Linked DNA regions of Homo sapiens: all the other regions are linked to region 3. Evidence: promoter capture Hi-C in 16 types of primary human blood cells and fetal thymus (Javierre and others, 2016). All regions are on one chromosome and are shown on one strand. The core of a region is centred on a gene start or on the middle of the fragment in contact, and the rest is flanking DNA. Distances in the headings are between cores, read along the strand shown. Region 1 overlaps UBR4 (ubiquitin protein ligase E3 component n-recognin 4). Region 2 overlaps UBR4 (ubiquitin protein ligase E3 component n-recognin 4). Region 3 holds the start of HTR6 (5-hydroxytryptamine receptor 6).

What was found. The method cuts DNA at HindIII sites, captures the fragments that hold promoters and counts their contacts. A CHiCAGO score of 5 or more calls a contact.
Region 1: a fragment that was not itself captured here is called in contact with the fragment with the promoter of HTR6 in region 3 in 1 of 17 cell types (naive B cells); the score reaches 5.8 in naive B cells.
Region 2: a contact is called between a fragment that was not itself captured here and the fragment with the promoter of HTR6 in region 3, in 1 of 17 cell types (activated CD4 T cells). The highest score is 5.8, in activated CD4 T cells.

What each region holds. Positions count from the first base shown.
Region 1 is chr1:19,144,089-19,148,046 of GRCh38, reverse strand. It overlaps UBR4 (ubiquitin protein ligase E3 component n-recognin 4), which reads left to right. Exons shown (of 106, transcript NM_020765.3): 51 at 1-54; 52 at 1,047-1,221; 53 at 2,114-2,254; 54 at 3,140-3,261; 55 at 3,956-3,958. Among named protein-coding and RNA genes, the nearest start is that of UBR4, 64 kb to the left of the region's middle. The HindIII fragment of the contact is 513 bases long and covers 1,519-2,031 here.
Region 2 is chr1:19,116,930-19,121,115 of GRCh38, reverse strand. UBR4 (ubiquitin protein ligase E3 component n-recognin 4) reads left to right here. Exons shown (of 106, transcript NM_020765.3): 69 at 768-936; 70 at 1,415-1,559; 71 at 2,159-2,244; 72 at 3,206-3,293; 73 at 3,702-3,895. Among named protein-coding and RNA genes, the nearest start is that of UBR4, 91 kb to the left of the region's middle. RefSeq lists an enhancer at 361-1,560. The HindIII fragment of the contact is 3,131 bases long and covers 1,183-4,186 here.
Region 3 is chr1:19,663,336-19,667,227 of GRCh38, reverse strand. HTR6 (5-hydroxytryptamine receptor 6) reads right to left here and starts at 2,353. Exons shown (of 3, transcript NM_000871.3): 1 at 761-2,353. The coding sequence starts at 1,474. RefSeq lists enhancers at 588-1,558, 1,559-2,531 and a silencer at 2,310-2,539. The HindIII fragment of the contact is 8,359 bases long and covers 1-3,892 here.

The DNA.
Region 1 (3,958 bases), core at 526-3,025, 520 kb after region 3:
AAGAGCCTTCTGGCCAGCCTGCACACCAGCCGCTCGGCCTACCACAGCCACAAGGTAACTGTTCTCTCAGGGAAAGGAAATTGCAGTGCTGACAGGGAATCAAATAAGTTAGCTTTTCATTGTAAAGCAACAGCACAGCAAAGTAAGGTAGAGGGAGGATAGCATTCAGATTAGACCTACATTTTACAGAGTTTCTCCTGAGAAATTCTCAAGTGCCACTCAAAACCGAGGGTAAGCCAGTGACTGGGCCCCTGGTTTGTACTTATTTTTCTGTCACTCTAACAGGATCAACAAGACTTAAGAAAGAGAAGGAGGGATATTGAGCGTGGGTAGCCTTCTCGCTGGAAAAGGGTGAGGTGAGGGAGTCCCTCAGGAAATAGACTGCTAGTGTTTTCGCTCCCTCAGGTGTGGCACAGCACGAGAAGTGTACTGTACTTGTTGGTGAGACAAGTGTTGAATAGTTCTTGGAGTGCCTCTGATGGGAACATCTGGGGAAAGAGGGTATCACTTATAAAAGAAAGGCATTGCCAAAGGAGACAAACTGGGCCAATTTCTGTAGATGGAAAAGATGAGAGTTCAGACCCCTGAGGAGGAAGGCTCTGAGAGGAGCCATCAACCCAGAGCTTTGGTTAGCTTCTGTGCCTCCAACCCGGAGAACTGAGAAATGTGAGTTTAACCTGCTGTCTCTCAAGGAAAGACAATTTTGGAAACACTGTCCTTGGGTAATATGAATTTGCTAAGAAATGACTCTTCTATTGTAAGAGAAAGAAATCTAGCAGTTCTGGAGAACTGAGTAGATTTGAATTTTCCCATCATACTTTGATACTGCAGGGTTTTTATTTTTTAATGACATTAATATTTTATGTATTAAGAAACTTAACTATATGAGGCTGCTTTGAAGATCTGTTGTAGGTGATTGGTGTTCATTGGCCTGTTCTCTTGAGAGGAGGTAATAATCCTGGTGATCTGCCAGCTTTTCTCTCCTCTTTGCTTTTGTACCCAGCTCTTGCTTATGGCTGACCCTCTGTGCTCCTGTTGTTTTACAGGATCAGGCCTTGCTGAGCAAAGCTGTGCAGTGTCTCAACACATCTAGCAAAGAGGGCAAGGATTTGGACCCTGAGGTGTTCCAGAGGCTAGTGATCACAGCTCGCTCCATTGCCATCATGCGCCCCAACAACCTTGTCCACTTTACGGAGTCAAAGCTGCCCCAGATGGAAACAGGTGAACTTGGCCTCTGTGGCCGTGGTCCTGAGATCTGCTTCATATGCCTATTTACCCTCTCATTCTTACTGTTCTTACTGGCCTCTGACTGACTGCATGCTCAGAGACAGGGATTTTGCTTCCTGGTCTTTATACCTTGTAGGGCCTTTTGACATTGAGATTGTACAATTTTAAACACATTCTTTTTCCAGTGCTTATACTTTCGATTATCCTTGAGTTTATTTAGTGTTCTAGACATCAGATATAATCTGTCTCTGAAGTTATTACCTCTTAGGAGCTTCAGGGGAAAGCTAAGCTTGGTTGGGCCCTGGTTGCTTTAAAGCAACTATGGCATATCTTTCGCTTTCATGCCATTCTTTTGCCAGTGCTATTATTAATAATGTGTAGCAACTTTCTCAGTGCTCAGTGCTGTTTCCTCATCTCCTCTTCTGTTGGCTGGGTAGCAAACCTGTTTTGTCATTGTCAAATTGAGTTGATTGCTGCCTTTACAATTCTGTGTTATTTACATGCTCCCATATGCATCATCATTCTGTTCCTCCTTTTAATACTACAATCCCAGAATTGTTCTAGAGAGATCTCTAGAATGTTCAGATGTTCCTCTACGTTTTAGAAGTTGAACAGTTGGAACTGAGATCTTTGAATCTGCGGTAAACATCCTAAATGCTCCCCGTTCTACTTAATTCTAACATACAATGTTTTCTGCGATATTCCTTTCCCAGACTGTTTTTTTCCTAGATGTGCCTGCTGGAGTCTAGGGATAGTTGGCATATTGATTGGGGCCCCACTTGAAACTCCCTCCCCAGGCAAGCTTCCTTGACCTGAGTTAACCTTAAAACAAATTAAATTCCATCTCAGATTTACCATCGTTGATAATTTTCTTTCTCCTGCTTAGAAGGAATGGATGAAGGGAAGGAACCGCAGAAGCAGTTGGAAGGAGATTGCTGTAGTTTCATCACCCAGCTTGTGAACCACTTCTGGAAACTCCATGCATCCAAACCCAAGAATGCCTTCTTGGCACCTGCCTGCCTTCCAGGTATGTTAAAAGGGATATTTGAATCTTGGTAATGAAGCCTGATGTAAGTTCTGTCTTTGAACAGCTATGACCGTTAGCCATTAGCTTTCATTCTTCATAATCCATTTCTTCCAGAACTCATAATTGGGAAGTAGAAGTCTGCGAGATAAATGCAATGTTCCTGAGACAGGAATTTAGCAGTGTGGCAGAGTGGGATTTTCTTCTACCATATCTTTTCATCGGGGTTGAATATTTTACATAAAGAGGCACTGTGTGTGTGTGTGTGTGTGTGTGTGTGTGTGTGTCTCAGTGGTTTATAATTGTTTTTAAAAATCTTTGACAACTTGGCTTAAAGCCAGCTCAAAAGGCACAAGTATCTTGAGGATTATTCTATTTCTAAGCTATTTGGTCTCTAACTTCTTACACTATTGAAAATTCAGATGGAAGAGTAAAGGGTCTGAATAGCAATATAGAAAAGTAGGATGATCCTGGTGCTCATTCATGTTTGGAGGACATTTGGGTGGTAAACCTAAAAGGCAAGTCAAGGTCATGTTTTGTCATCACCTGAGGTTGGGGGATATTAGGGAACATTTAGTATCTGCCTTCCTCTTCATATTTCCTTGCCTTGTCTTTTGATATCCAGAGAGAGTGGACAGCTACTTATTTCTGTGACTCAAGATATCTGGAAAGACTTTTGAGGACAATTTGGGAGTTTAGGAAACTGTTAATGAAACAAATCATAAATAATACAGGCTACTGTGTGTGAATGAGTGTGTATGTGAGTGTTTGTCATTTTGTTTGCATGACCTTTTACATGGAGATAAAAGGTTACACTTTTGTCTCAGACTCTCAAGTAGTTAGAGTTTTTTCCTCCAGATTTTCAAATAATGTTTGTCTCTCCTTTAGGACTAACTCATATTGAAGCTACTGTCAATGCTCTGGTGGACATCATCCATGGCTACTGTACCTGTGAGCTGGATTGTATTAACACAGCATCCAAGATCTACATGCAGATGCTCTTGTGTCCTGTACGTAGCATTACAATCCCAGAGAGCTCGCAGCAGCCAGGGAATATCTGGAAAATTGTTTTTAGCTTGCTAAGCTAATGAAATAAAATATATTTAGAGGAAGCTGAAGGGAATGAAGTTTCAAATATCAATAAAAGCTTTAAGATCTTACTCCATGGAAGAGAAAGATTTGGAAAGGGGATGGGCTCAGTCTTTCTTATTCAGTGCTGAATCACCAGGGACAGCCTACTGCTTGCTACATAGTAAGTGCTAGGTAACTCGGTGAATTGTGACTTAAATGAGCACATGAATGAAAGTAGTACATCAAGATTTCTATTTCCAGTGACCCTTTCACAGAAGCTAAGTGTTAAAACTACTGATTTTAGCACAGAGCTAAGACGTGCGCTGGGGGCTTGATCATCTGATAAAAAGCCAGAACCATTTGTAAGGGGCCAAAATGGCCTCAGGAGCAAATGACCTGCCAGTCCATCCCCAGGAACTGAGAGACAGGAGGTTAGCGAATGGCTCTTAATGTGTGCCAGAACAGGAAGCGGGGATTAACTTAACCTGCTGAACTTGGTCCGCTGGGTTGCAGGTGAGAGTAGAGAGGTATTCCACTTGCATGTGAGTGAGTGACCAAGAAAGGAAAGTGTTTTATAGAGAGTTTCATGAATAATATGAGAGCAAAGCGTGACAGTTTCCTTTTAAACCTCAGGAT
Region 2 (4,186 bases), core at 1,499-3,998, 550 kb after region 3:
GTTGTAAAAGGTCTTTTAATCCTGATTTAGAGGGGACTTAAAGCCCAAATGTTCTCTAGTGTCTACTTTTGGTCTCATTTTCAATTATACTGAAGTGACACCTTAAACAGCATGACTTCTCATACCAAGTGACAGTAATAAGAAAAGTCAAAGTGCACTGAACATTTTTAGTAGACCAAATTTCTTATTCTGTGAAATAATAACACCTTCTCTATGGAGCTCCCATCAGAGTTCAGTGAAATGACACTGAGTACATTGGTAAATGCTCAGTAAATGTTAGCTCTCTTAGCTGACCCTCACCATCAGCTGCACTGCTTTCCATGGTCCTTGGAGACCTGAGATCAGTGGTCAGGGTTGAGAGCCATGGTGGTGGTTCACATTCCCCCAGTTAATGATCAGACATCTCTGTGTAGGCCTATTGCAAGCCCTTGAAAGGAAGTTCCTCCTCCTCCAGTGTCACTGTATTTGTTCAGTGCCAGCTTACATAGCACTTTATCCTGTGGTTTTTAGTGTCATTATTGTATGTCTTGTCTGGAAGGCAGCTGTGCTCACCACTGCATCACCAACGTTACACATATGTCTCATTTGGGGCTGACCTATTTGTCCCCCAGTAAACAACTAAAAATTGTTTTGCAGAATATCAGCATTCAGTAGAAACTTTTAGAAATGGACAGAATTCCCTCCCTCACCATTTGGTAGCCCAGGCCTTAGGACCCTGGAGGACTTCTTCCTACTCTTCAGCCCTTAGTCCTGTCCTAATCTTGCAGGTGAGACCTCTGGCAGCCAGGAGGACCAGCTGTGCACAGCTCTGGTGAACCAGCTGAACAAATTTGCCGATAAGGAAACCCTGATCCAGTTCCTGCGTTGTTTCCTGTTAGAGTCCAATTCTTCCTCGGTGCGCTGGCAGGCCCACTGTCTGACACTGCACATCTACAGGTAGGGCCAGGGCTTGGTTTGACAGATCTGCAAGGGTGTGAGGCCAGGGTGCGTAATGCAGTTCTATTTTGTTTTCGGTTACATATGGTCACAGAGTCAGTAGTTACGCCAGCCTGAATCCTCTTGTGCTTTAGAGATTTCTTTATTGTTGTCTGCTTTTTAGCCATTAAACTGACGTCATAGGCAGGAGACGATCTGTTTTCTACTCAGAAGGCTATGTATCGGGGTTTGTAACATGACCAAGCTTGACCCTTCAGGCTAAAAAAGCTCAGCTTCTGCTCTGGGATATGTTGGGTGATGGGTAGAGGCAGCAAATGACTATGCTGCATCTGGTAGGATTGATTGTCAAAAGTGAAACAAAACCGTTCAAACTTAACCCATAATTGTGGGGAAATTGAGGTACCAGAGCCTCAATGATAAACACAGGTGCCTCAGGGTTTTCTGCTGCTTGGTAACATGAGCTGTCATATATCCACAGAAATTCCAGCAAATCTCAACAGGAGCTCCTGCTAGATCTGATGTGGTCCATCTGGCCAGAACTCCCAGCCTATGGTCGTAAGGCTGCCCAGTTTGTGGACCTACTAGGATATTTCTCCCTGAAAACTCCACAAACAGAGAAGAAGGTAACAGTTGCTTTATGGTCAGAGGGGCCAACTTGCCATATTTAACCTTTTTTCTCTTGAGTTAAGAATATTATGAACAACCCAGATATAGGGAGTCCATATAGGAAACCTCTTTTAAATATATCTAGTTTTGCATTTCTTGGTAAGCACTCGTAATATGTCTGTGATGTAGACAGTATACACTAACAAATCTAACTTAACATAGGACGTAGGTCAAGGTCAGGTGGGGAAAGAAGATAGAACTCATTACAGTTCCTTGGAAAAGCAAGTGCTCCTTGTTTTGCTAGTAGCCCTGATTATACATACCAGAAAATGTTTCTGCAATTAGCTAACCATTTTATGGCTTCTCCATAAAAATAAAAATGATCTTCCTCCATCAGGTCAGAAAAGGGTACTACCTATCACTAAAGCTCATGGAAACTTCTAAAGGAGATAGAATCCATTTAAATGATTGAAATTAGGCCCAGCTTTGTATGATTCTGACTGAGAAGTCTGGTAGGTCTAGGGCAGTATTCAGCTAGAATGCAGAAGACAAAAGTCTTTTCCAATAAGACTTCACCTTGGGCTTTAAGTTGTTTCTTTACTGAATTCTGTTTCAGTTGAAGGAGTATTCACAGAAGGCTGTGGAGATTCTGCGGACTCAAAACCATATTCTTACCAACCACCCCAACTCGAACATTTATAAGTGAGCTTTGTTTTGCTTTCTACCTGTGGGAAGCTCAGTCAGCATTCTGAGGAGTTATTTGCATGGTGATAGGCTCTTACATAGGAATTGACAAGCGCCTGAGAGAAGAGCGAATCTGCCTAGTTGAGATTCCAATCCCCTCCATGTAGGCCAGGGTCTTGCAAATAGAAGGTACTCAAAATGTCATTGCTGAGTTCAGGGTTTGGTGAGTAGTAATGTAGAAAGGTCTGTATAGCCTGGGCAACATAGTGAGACTTCATCTCTTAAAAAAAAATTTAAAAAAGTTAGCCAGGCGTGGTGGCGTGTACCTGTGGTCCCAGCTGCTGGGGAGGCTGAGGCAGGAGGATGGCTTGGGGCCAGAAGTTCGAGGGTGCAATGAACTGTGATCCACGCCACTGCACTCCAGCCTGGGTGACAGAGTGAGACCCTGTCTCAAAAAAAAAAAAAAAAAAAGGTCTTTAGTTTCAAGGGTTTAAGTTAAATAAGGTGAAACAAATTTAAAGAAAATGTCTTCCTTTTTTTAAAAAAACTTCTAAAAGAGGATATTGGTTAAATTGACAGTTTATTATTTCTCTGGTTTAGTAGTGACTGTTCTTTAAAAAAAATTTAAAAAAACTTTATTGAGATAATTTATGTATTAACCTATTTTAAATGTACAGTTCAATGATTTTTAGTAAATTTAATTGTGACTCTTGAGTCAAATTTTACTACTTTTTAGAATTCCTCTGAAGGATAGATCAAAGATTAGGAAACATCTAAGGTCAGTTAGTTGAAATTTCTTTCCTGTGGCTTCGTAACCCTATTGGGATTTCTCCTGTGTCCTTGAGTTCTCACTAGGGTGGGGCTCACTTTGGGCTCACTTTGGCTCACATTGAGCCATGGCTTTGTCATGATTTTTTTGTGAAACTCAGTGCTTCCTAAGATGAAAATGTGTTCATGCTAAGACTGGTTTCTTCCTTAGCACTTTGTCTGGCTTAGTGGAGTTTGATGGCTATTACCTGGAGAGCGATCCCTGCCTGGTGTGTAATAACCCGGAAGTACCGTTCTGTGTAAGTAACATCTGTACATGGACAGTCCTGAGGCCAATAGGTCCAGTGGGATTCTTGTTTCCAGAGATGGATCATTATCACATAGATGTTCCTCTCCTAATGGTTGGTCACCGATAGTAGGAATTTTTATCTGCCACATTTATTACCTTAAATAGAAACTTGGCTGGGTGCAGTGGCTCAAGCCTATAATCCCAGTACTTTGGGAGGCTAAGATGGGAGGATCCCCTGAGCCCAGGGGTTTTAGACCAGCCTGGGCAAGATGGTGAGACCCCATCTCTACAAAATATTTTTTAAAAAATTAAATAGAAACTTCATCTTGTGGATGAAGAGTGGGTTACACTGATGAATTTTTAAAAAGGCAGTACGAGTCTTGAACTAATACCATGTTTTGTGAACTCTTGTATTTAGTATATCAAGCTGTCTTCCATTAAAGTGGACACGCGGTACACCACCACCCAGCAGGTTGTGAAGCTCATTGGCAGTCACACCATCAGCAAAGTGACAGTGAAAATCGGGGATCTGAAACGGACCAAGATGGTGCGGACCATCAACCTGTATTATAACAACCGAACCGTGCAGGCCATCGTGGAGTTGAAAAACAAGTACGGGCTTTTTAGGCCTCGGGAGGGGCAGCAGGTTGTAAGGCTGAAGCTCAGTTGCTGCCTTCGGTTCCTGGAATGGAGTAAGGCAGCACATCCCTAGAGGCCTAATACATCCTCTTGGCCCCTCCATTCATGACCAAAGGACAAAAGTGAAACAACAGTTCTAAGCATGTTGACAAAGATTATTTCTAAATTAGCCCAGTGGAGCCATAGGGGTCTGTGGAAGTTCCTCAACAGCCTGCCTAGGGAGGGGAAGCTGAGTGAGGGGACCTCCAGGCTTCTCATGCCCAT
Region 3 (3,892 bases), core at 1,104-3,603:
GGGGAAGAACATTCCAGGCACAGGGAACAGCAAGTGCAAAGACCTGGGCACAGAAGTAAGCCCAGTGCCTTCTAGAACCGTGAGAAAGGCCACAAGGCTGTTGCAGAGTAAGAGAGAGGGAGAGGGGAGGTGACACTGGAGAGGATGGCAGTGTGGGATCCTGAGGCCAGATCCTGAGACAGGTTTTCTTTATCTGGAGCACGGTGGGAAGCCTGAAGAGTCTGAAGCAGGGGAGTGACATGATCACTTCTTTTTTAAGTGCTCCAGCTTCTATGCAGAAGATGGAGAGTACTGGGTCTGCGGCAGAAGCAGGGGAGCCAGGAGAAGTCTACACAGCCTCCCCGGTAGGAAGTGGCAGGGGAGATGGCACCTGTTTAGAGCAGCGCCAACAGGTCTCGCTAATGAATGGCATGAGGGTGAGGGAGAAAAGTATTCCTAAGTTCCTGGCATGTGATGCCGCAATGGTGCCATTTGCCATGATGGGGAAGACCAGGGAGGCAAAGATGGGGAGAGTTGGGCCACCATAAATTCCCTGTTGTACATGGTACCTGGGAGAAGCCTGCCCCCAAATCCTGACGGAGCTATCCTGTGGTGGGTGGGTCAGGCATTGGCTCTGGAGTTCAGAAGAAAGGTGGGCGCTCACAACAGCCACGCAGGGCCATGAGCAAATGTGTGCTAAGTGGGGATGCCCAGGGGGTCCCCAGGGGCTGCTCATTCCTCTCTATCCCACAGCCCGGGTCTCCCTGCGCACCCCAGGTACCTGCAGCGTCTCCGAGGCCTGACTGGCCATGCCGGTGGTGAGGGAGGCCACCTGCACGGCCTGCTTGCGGGCAGCTAGCAGGATCCTGCAGTAGGTGAAGCATATGGCACCCGAGGGCAGGAAGAAGGTGAGGCCCGACGCCACAAGGACAAAAGGCAGGCTGGCCAGCAGGCGGCACTGGCCAGGGACGGGTGGCCGTGCGTGGCCCAGCTCGTGCCAGCCCAGCAGCAGGGGCAGGAAGGAGGCGAGAGCGGCGAGGCTCCAGGCGCCCAGGACTAGGGCCAGGGCACGCAGGGGCGTCATGCGCAGCTTGTAGCGCAGCGGCGAGAGGATGAGCAGGTAGCGGTCCAGGCTGATGAGGCAGAGGTTGAGGATGGAGGCGCTGCAGCACATCACGTCGAAGGCGGTCCAGAGCAGGCAGAGGCCGCGCGCCAGCACCCAGCGCCCGTACAGCGCGTTCAGCATGGCCGGCGGCATCACCACCAGCCCCACCATCAGGTCAGACGTGAAGAGCGACACCAGGAAGAAGTTGGACGTGTTGCGCAGCGCGGGCTGAGTGCAGATGAGCGCGATCAGCAGCGAGTTGGCCGCCGCCGTCAGCGCGATGACCACGCACAGCGCGGCCGCCACCCAGCCGCTGCCCCCCGGGGCCGACGGCGGCCCTGCCCCCCAGGCCGGGGTGCTATTGGCGGTTGGGCCCGGCTCTGGGACCATGAGGACCGAGGGTGGACGGCAAGGGAGTGATAGGGTGGCGGGAAAGCAGATGAGGGCCCCGGCGAAGCGCAGGCTGGACGGGGACCGTCCGTGAGAACAGACCGCGACTCACCACGCCCCCCGGGGGAGGTGAGTGGGGGGACATGGGCGGGGGCGCTGGGTCGCGCTAGGTCAGGGGGCAGCGACTACAGGAGGACACAGTGTGGCTATTTGGGCGCCCTCGGGGATGGGGCAGGAACTCCTGGAGCAAACGGGTTGGAAGTTTGGGGAGGGGCACCCGATGAGCCGAGGCCCCTGAAGGAAGCGGCGGGAAGTCAAGCAGAGGTCGGATGGGCTCCCTGGGGTGGGAGCAGAGCCCCCTGGAGGGGGCGGGCGGCAAGATAGGGGAGGGGCGTCCGGCCGGGTCAGAGTGCGGGGAAGTGGGAACGCGGGGAGGTGGGTGAGGGGGGTGAATGGGCGCTCTCGGGCCGGAGCAGGCTCCCCGCGGCCGGTGGGCGTGTGGGGTACCAGGGCGGGGGCCTAGGGGCCGGAGCAAAGCCGCCCCTGGGAAAGGCAGGTCTCAGCTGGCGCGGAGGCACCGGGATCCGGCGCACACGGCCTGTGCGGCGCGGGGGTTCGCCGGGGCCGCCAGGCCCCGCGGGAAGAGGAGGGCAGCGGCCGCGCGGCGCCCCCTCCCCACCCGGCAGCAGGGTCGCCTCCGTCTCCCGCCCGCACTGGTACCTGGGGCGCTCTGGCTGCTCCGCCGCCTGCGACTGCGGCAAGCGCCGCGGGGCTGCGAGAGGAAGAGGCGGCCGCGGGCCGGGCGGGCGGCGGGACCGGGTCTCCCGAGCCCGGGAGGCGCCGCGAGGGGCCCGCACGCGCGGAGGAGAGGCCGGGTGCAGCCTGGAGCGCGCGGTCCCCGCGCCGCGGAGCGTGCGCCCCGCCTCGCGGTGGGCGGGGAGAGCCGAGCCCTGGCCCTGCAGGAGGGCGGGGTCCCGGCACCCCGGGCCTGTGGGCCGAAGATCAGAGCGCCCCAGCTGCGAGGGGTCACCTCCCGGGCTGTGGCAGCCCCCACACCCTCAGATGCCCCTCCCAACCCACACGTGGCGGCGGCGCAGGCGGAACTGGGAGCAGGGGGCTGTGACCTGCCCTTATCCAGGGGCTGCTCTCTAATGGGTGCCTGCCCACTCACAACGGGGTCACCGGGCTTTCAGGGGAGCCAGGAGTTGGGAAATATTGGACAAATCGCCTGACACCCCTCTGGGCCTCAGTTGCCATATCTGTAAAATGGGTTAGTAATTCTGGGCATTCTTCACCGTTAGTTTGAGCAAGAAGCTAACCTTCCCCAGGGCCTTTCCCGCAGAAACCATCCCGATCCCCAAAGGGGCCAGGTACTAAGGATGAAGTCCCTGAGCTGTTGGCGCTCCTAGTCTAACAGAGCGTGAACAGATTTGAGAATCCCCAGGCCAGGTGTGTTAAGAGTCGCTGCAGGCAGAGGCGTGGGGTGTGGTTTCCCCTGGGTGTGACCTCCCTCTGTACGTCTCCCCTCTGGCTGAGAAGAGTCTCTGCCTAACACTGCTGTGCAGGTTAATACTGTTATTCATTCATTCATTGAACAGATACTTCAATGCATCTTTTAAGGCGCATCCACTAGATGTCAGGCACTGTTCTGACCCATCAGGACACTACAGTGGCCAAAACAAAGATCCGCACCTCCATGGAGCTTACATTCTAGTGGAAGAAACAGACAATAAACAATAAGCATAATCAACAGAGAAAGTGGGCCCAGCGAGGTGGCTCACGCCTGTAATCCCAGCACTTTGGGAGGCGGAGGTGGGCAGATCACCTGAGGTCAGGAGTTCGAGACCAGCCTGACCAACATGGTAAAACCCCGTCTCTATCAAAAATACAAAAATTAGCTGGGCGTGGTGGCGGGAGCCTGTAATCCCAGCTATTCGGGAGGCTGAGGCAGGAGAATTGCTTGAACCTGGGAGGCAGAGGTTCCAGTGAGCCAAGATTGTGCCACTGCACACTCCAGCCTGGGTGACAGAGCAAGACTCTGTCAAAAAAAAAAAAAAAAAAAAAAAAAAAAAGGAAAGAAAGAAAGAGAGAAAGGAAAGAAAGAGAAAGAAAGAAGAGAAAGAGAAAAAGAAAATGTAGTATAAAGAGAACGGGGTGGGATCATTTTTTCTCCACAGAAACAGAAAAATAATACTTTCCAAATCGAAGGCTCCTGCGCTGTCCCCAGGGGCTTTGTTGTACGGTTCCTACTCCTCCAGTTATTTATTCCGACCCCTACAATAATGCTGAGAGGTAGACGTTAAACTGGGGTTCAGAGAGGCCAAGGGCCTTGCCCCAGATCACCAGCAGCAAGTGGTGAAGTGGACCTGAAACCCAGATCTGCTCGATGCCCATGGCAAAGAGAGCCCATTACAGATG